Regions from separate parts of the Homo sapiens genome. Here region 1 is linked to region 2. The links are contacts of gene promoters, found by promoter capture Hi-C in human tissues and cell types (Jung and others, 2019). All regions are on one chromosome and are shown on one strand. Each heading gives the region's core, a stretch centred on a gene start or on the middle of the fragment in contact. The rest is flanking DNA. Distances are from core to core; before and after follow the strand shown.

Region 1 (3,381 bases), core at 779-3,278, 270 kb before region 2:
ATTTAAAAACATATATATGTACATACTTTAATTTAAAAATAATTGGCCGGGCGCAGTGGCTCGTGCCTGTAATCCCAGCACTTTGGGAGGCCGAGACGGGTGGATCACCTGAGGTCAGGAGTTCGAGACCAGCCTGGACAACATAGTTAAACCCCGTCTCTACTAAAAGTACAAAAATTAGCCGGGTGTGGTAGCTGGCGCCTATAGTCCCAGCTACTCAGGAGGCTGAGGCAGGAGAATCGCTTGAATCCGGAGGCAGAGGTTGCAGTGAGCCAAGAATGCACCATTGCACTCCAGCCTAGGTGACAGAGCAAGACTCTGCCTCAAAAAACAAAACAAAACAAAACAAAAAACCTTTATTGCTAAAAATGCTAACAATCATCTGTGCCTTCAGCAAGTCCTAATCTTTTTGCTAGTGAAGGGTCTTGCCTCATGTTGATGACCACTCACTGATCAGGGTGGTGGCTGGTGAAGTTTGGGGTGACTGTAGCAATTTCTTTTTTTTTTCCTTATTTTTGTTTTTATTTTTCCTAGTGCCTTCAGGTGAAAACAATTTCTTAAAATAAGAAAATAATGAAATTTTCTGCATCAATTGACTTTTCTTTTTTCATTTTTGTGTTTTTGTTTGTTTTGTTTTGTTTTGAGATGGGGTCTCCCTCTGTTGCCCAGGCTGGAGTGCAGTGGCACGATCCCGGCTCACTGCAAGCTCCGCCTCCCAGATTCAAGCAATTTTCCTGCCTCAGCCTCCCAAGAAGCTGGGATTACAGGCTCCCACCACCATGCCCGTCTCATTTTTGTATTTTTAGTAGGGACGAGATTTCACCATGTTGGCCAGGTTGGTCTCGAACTCCTGACCTCAGGTGATCTGCCCGCCTCGGCCTCCCAAAGTGCTGGCATTACAGGTGTGAGCCACCATGCCCGGCCGACTCTCCATTTCTAGAAAGGTTTCTCTATAGCATATGATGCTGTTTGACATCGTTCTACCCACAGTAGAACTTCTTTCAAAATTGAAGTCAATGCTGGCCTGGAGCGGTGGCTCACGCCTGTAATCACAGCACTTTGGGAGGCTGAGGCGGGTGGATCACCTGAGGTCAGGAGTTCGAGACCAGCCTGGCCAACATGGTGAAACCCCATCTCTTCCAAAAATAGAAAAAAATTAACTGGGCGTGGTGGCGTGCACCTGTAGTCCCAGCTACTGGGGAGGCTGAGGTGGGAGAACCTCTTGGACCCAGGAGGTGGAGGTTGCAGTGAGCCAAGATCATGCCACTGCACTGCACTCCAGCCTGGGCGACAGAGCAAGACTCCATCTCAAAAAAAAAAAAAAAGAAAGAAAGAAATGGAGTCAATCCTCTCAAACTGCTGCTGCTTTATCAACTAAGTATATGTAATATCCTAAATCTTTGTTGCCATTTCAGCAATGTTCACAGCCTCTTCACCGGGAGTAGATTCCATCTCAAGAAACCACTTTCCTTGCTCATCCATAGAAGCAACTCATCTGTTCAAATGTTATCATGAGATGGCAGCAATTCAGTCCCATCTTCAGGCTCCACTTTTTTTTTTTTTTTTTTTTTTTTTGTAGAGACGAGGTCTTGCTATGTTACCCAGGTTGGTTTGGAACTTCTGAGCTCAAGTTATCCTCCTGCCCTGGCCTCCCAAATTGCTGGGATTGCAGGTGTGAGCCAGTGGGCCTGGCCTCAGGGTCCACTTCTAATTCTAGTTCTTTTGCTATTTCTACATCTGCAGTTTTTTCCTCCACTGAAGTGTGTCTTCAGCCCCTCAAAGTCACCCATGAAGGTTGTAATCAACTTCTTTCAAACTCCTGCTAATGTTAATTTTTTGAGATGGAGCCTTGCTTTTGTCACCCAGGCTGGAGTGCAATGGCATGATCTCGGCTCACTGCAACCTCCGCCTCCCGGGTTCAAGCGATTCTCCTGCCTCAGCCTCCCAAATAGCTGGGGTTACAGGAAAGCGCCACCATGCCCGGCTAATTTTGTATTTTTAGTAGAGATGTGGTTTCACCATGTTGGTCAGGCTGGTCTCGAACTCCTGTCCTCAAGTGATCCACCCGCTTCATCCTCCCAAAGTGCTGGAGTTACAGGTGTGAGCCGCTGCACTCGGCCTAATTTTTAAATTTTTTTAATACAGATGGGTTCTCACTTTGTTATTCAGGCTGCTCTTGGCCTCCTGGGCTCAAGCGATCTTCTTGCCTCAGCCTCCCAAAGTGCTGGAATTATAGGTGTCAGCCACCACTCCCGGCCTAATCATGAATATTCTTTTTTTGTTTTTTGAGAGAGTCTCACTCTGTCACCCAGGCTGAAGTGCATTGGCACGATCTCGGCTCACTGCAACCTCTGCCTCCCGGATTCAAGCGATTCTCATGTCTCAGCCTCCCGAGTAGCTGGGACTACAGGTGCGTGCCACCATACCTGACTAAGTTTTGTATTTATTTATTTATTTATTTATTTATTTATTTATTTATTTATTTTTAGTGGAGATGGAGTTTCACCATGTTGGCCAGCTTGGTCTCAAACTCCTGACCTCAGTTTATCCACCTGCCTCAGCCTCCCAAAGTGCTGGGATTATAGGCATGAGCCACCACGTCCGGCCCTAATCATGAATATTCTTAATGGCATCTAGAATGATGAATGCTTTCTAAGTTTTCAGTTTACCCAGATCCATCAGCGGAATCACTATGGCAGCTCTAGCCTTACAAAATGTATTTCTTAAAAAAGACTTGAAAGTTGAAATTACTTCTTCATCCATGGGCTGCAGAATGGATGTGTTAGCAGGAATGAAAACAATATTATTTCCCTGGTATCCCTCCATCAGAGCCCTTGGGTAATCAGGTGCATCGTCAATCAGCAGTAATAACTTTAAAAAATATTTTTTTTGGCTGAGTGCGGTGGCTCATGCCTGTAATCCCAGCTACTCAGGAGGCTGAGGCAGGAGAATCGCTTGAACCTAGAAGCAGAGGTTGCAGTGAGCTGAGATCATGCCACGGCACTCCAGCCTGGCCGACAGAGCCGACGAAGGAGTTGGTCTCAACAGTGGCTTAAAATGTTCGGTAAACCATGCTGGGAACAGATGGGCTGTCATCCAGGCTTTGTTGTTCCATCCACAGAGCACAGGCAGAATAGATTTAGCATCATTCTTAAGAGCCCTGGGATTTTCGGAATGGTAAATGAGCATTGGCTTCAACTTAAAGTCGCCAGCTGCATTAGCCCTAACGAGAGTCAGCCTGTCCTTCGAAGCTTTGAAGCCAGGGATTGACTTCTCTTCTGTAGCTATGAAAGTCCCAGGTGGCATCTTCTTCCAATAGAAGGCTGTTTGTCTACATTGAAAGTCTGTTTTTGAGTGTAGCCACCTTCGTCAGTGAGATCA
Region 2 (3,523 bases), core at 957-3,456:
ATTTCAAAAAACATATTGAATGAAAGAACCAGAAGCAAAAGGCCACATAGTGTATTATTCTGTTTATATGAAACATCCAGAAAAGGCAAAGTTAGAGACAGAAAGCAGATCAGTGGTTGCACAGGACTGGAATTGGGAGCTGGATTGACCAGAAACAGGTGGGAAGGACTTATCAGGTTGACGGAAACATTCTGTAACTGGATTGTAGTGATGGTTAGGCAACAGTACAAATCACTGCATTTTCTTTCTTTTCTTTTCTTTTCTTTTTTTTTTGGAACACAGTCTCACTCTGTCACCCAGGCTGGAGTGCAGTGGTGAGATCTCAGCTCACTGCAACCTCCACCTCCCAGGTTCAAGCGATTCTCCTGCCTCAGCCTCTGGAGTAGCTGGTGCGCCACCACACCCAGCTAATTTTTGTATTTTTAGTAGAGACAGGGTTTTGTCGAGTTGGCCAGGCTGGTCTTGAACTCCTGGCGTCAAGTGATCCGCCCACCTTGGCCTCCCAAAACGCTGGGATTACAGGTGTGAGCCACTACGACCTGCCTGGTTTAAAAAAAAAAAAAATGAGCCCGGGTGCAGTGGTTCACACCTGTAATCCCAGCACTTTGGGAGGCCAAGATGGGCAGATCACAACTTCAGGAGTTCGAGACCAGCCTGGCCAACATGGTGAAACCCCATCTGTACTAAAAATAGAAAAATTAGCTGGCTTGGTGGTGGGCACCTGTAATCCCAGCTGCTCAGGAGGCTGAGACAGGAGACTCACTTGAGGCCGGAAGGCAGAGGTTGCAGTAAGCCGAGATCGCACCATTGCACTCCAGCCTGGCCAACAGAGCAAGACTCTGTCTCAAAAAAATAATAATAATAGTAATACAAAAGTTAGCTGGGCGTGGTGGCTGGCACCTATGATCTCAGCTACTAGGGAGACTGAGGCAGGAGAATCGCCTGAACCCAGGAGGTGGAGGTTGCAGTGAGCCAAGATCGCGCCACTGCACTCAAGCTTGGGTGACAGAGTGAGACTCCATCTCAAAATAAATAAATAAATAAATAAATAGCCTAAAGGGACACTAGAGTGGGTGGCGTGTTAGGATACCATAGTGGTACTGTAGGCAGGGAAAAGGCAGCGAGGACTTGTGCAGACTCCATTTCCAGAGCTGCAAAATGGGAATAATGACGCCAGCCCCCCAGTGAGAGGCTGGATGAGAAGGGATGCGCAGAAACTGTTGGGGGCACAGAGCCTGAAGAGCATCTACTGTTTTCCAGTGCAGGCAAGAAGCAGCTGCAAAAGACTGGAAAAAGCAGTTTAGAGCTTTGGGATCAGAAACACTTGTGTATGTAACTACAGGGTGGTTCCAAATGCCATCAGCACCGGGCGTGGTGGCTCACGCCTGTAATCCCAGCACTTTGGGAGGCCAAGGCAGGCAGATCATTTGAGGTCAGGAGTTCGAGACCAGTCTGGCGAACATGGTGAAACCCTGTCTCTACTAAAACAAACAAACAAACAAACAAAAAACTGGGCCAGGCGCGGTGGCTCATGTCTGTAATTCCAGCACTTTAGGAGGCCGAGGCTGGTGGATCACCTGAGGTCAAGAGTTCGAGACCAGCCTGACCAACATGATGAAACCCTGTCTCTACTAAGAATACAAAATTAACCGGGTGCGGTGGCACGCGCCTGTAGTCCCAGCTACTCGGGAAGCTGAGGCAGAAGAATCGCTTGAACCCGGGAGGCAGAGGTTGCAGTGAACCGAGATCGCGCCATTGCACTCCAGCCTGGGCAACAAGAGCGAAACTCCGTCTCAAAAAAAAAAAAAAAAAAAATGCCATCGGCATGTTAGCGAGAAAATGTCAACTATTTCATGCATCAGCCACACCCACCCCCATCCCCAGGATGCTTGCCCCACCACTTTCTCTTTCTTTTGTAAACTGAAAAGCGCTTTGCAGTCTAAGATAGTCCATTAGAGTAAATGAAGCCATGAAGTCCAGCGGACACCGGGAGTGGGGAGTGGGGAAGCCCGGCACTCCGGGAGACCGGGCCAGGGAAGGAGGGTCTGGACCGGACCCAGCCCCTGCCCGGGGAGCGAGCTCCGGAGCTGCCCTACGAGGTCAAAACGTAGCAGTGGCGGAGACCCGCAGGGGGCGCCCGAACGCCACCCTCGGCCCCTCCCCGCTCCAGAGGCCCCGCCCCGTCACGTGCCCGCGGTTCGCGTCACACCCGGAAGCAGGGGCCCGAGCGGAGCCGGCCGCGATGAGCGGGGAGCCGGGGCAGACGTCCGTAGCGCCCCCTCCCGAGGAGGTCGAGCCGGGCAGTGGGGTCCGCATCGTGGTGGAGTACTGGTGAGCGGCCCCGGCTGGAGGACCCGCACCCTGGTCCCGCGGGCCGGACGGAGGTGGGTCCACGGGAGGCCCCACCCCCGAATCCCCAGCCCAGCCCCATCTCTTGACTCCCCAGTGAACCCTGCGGCTTCGAGGCGACCTACCTGGAGCTGGCCAGTGCTGTGAAGGAGCAGTATCCGGGCATCGAGATCGAGTCGCGCCTCGGGGGCACAGGTGAGGCTCGCAGAACACCTGCTGGGTCAGTCTGTGCTCTGAATCCCAGCTCTCCCGCTTTCTAGTTCTGACATTGGCTGCTTTATGTAAAGTGCCCGCAGTGCCTGGCACATGGTAAAATGTCCGGCCAACATGAGTTCCCTTCCATAGGTCAGGGGGTGTCACAGAGGCCTGTGGGGAAAAACCTATTAGACTGCAATCGTGTAGGGTTGGAGGGGAGGGAGTCCTTTATTGAGTGTTGCGAGGGGCACACAGGCGAGGCCTCCCTCAGGTTCCCTGGAGTTGACCCAGGGTTGGGGAATTGCTTAAGGAGCTACAAATGGGTCTCCAGTGGGATTGATGGGGGACTTGAAGGCGGGGGACCCCTTTGGAGGAACTCCTGACTTCTGCCTATGTTCTCAGTGTACCATTTATCTGTTGATTTCTTACCAGGTGCCTTTGAGATAGAGATAAATGGACAGCTGGTGTTCTCCAAGCTGGAGAATGGGGGCTTTCCCTATGAGAAAGATGTGAGTATTTACAGCGTTGGGAGGACCTCTTGGTCACCCTACCCCAACAGTGCATCATCCTGTCATTCCACTCCTCTAGCTCATTGAGGCCATCCGAAGAGCCAGTAATGGAGAAACCCTAGAAAAGATCACCAACAGCCGTCCTCCCTGCGTCATCCTGTGACTGCACAGGACTCTGGGTTCCTGCTCTGTTCTGGGGTCCAAACCTTGGTCTCCCTTTGGTCCTGCTGGGAGCTCCCCCTGCCTCTTTCCCCTACTTAGCTCCTTAGCAAAGAGACCCTGGCCTCCACTTTGCCCTTTGGGTACAAAGAAGGAATAGAAGATTCCGTGGCCTTGGGGGCAGGAGAGAGACACTCTCCATGAACACTTCTCCAGCCACCTCATACCCCCTTCCCAGGGTAAGTGCCCACGAAAGCCCAGTCCACTCTTCGCCTCGGTAATACCTGTCTGATGCCACAGATTTTATTTAT

The links. The method cuts DNA at HindIII sites, captures the fragments that hold promoters and counts their contacts. A contact is called where the count stands out against the background at its distance.
Region 1: a contact is called between a fragment that was not itself captured here and the fragment with the promoter of MIEN1 in region 2, in 1 of the 25 tissues and cell types used here (lymphoblastoid cells).

Annotation. Positions count from the first base shown.
Region 1 is chr17:40,000,616-40,003,996 of GRCh38, reverse strand. No RefSeq gene overlaps it. Among named protein-coding and RNA genes, the nearest start is that of PSMD3-AS1, 12 kb to the left of the region's middle. The HindIII fragment of the contact is 8,544 bases long and covers 1-3,381 here.
Region 2 is chr17:39,729,215-39,732,737 of GRCh38, reverse strand. It overlaps MIEN1 (migration and invasion enhancer 1), which reads left to right and starts at 2,206. Exons shown (of 4, transcript NM_032339.5): 1 at 2,206-2,331; 2 at 2,447-2,544; 3 at 2,977-3,053; 4 at 3,133-3,523. The coding sequence starts at 2,243. The coding sequence ends at 3,216. RefSeq lists a silencer at 1,965-2,524. The HindIII fragment of the contact is 5,525 bases long and covers 1-2,485 here.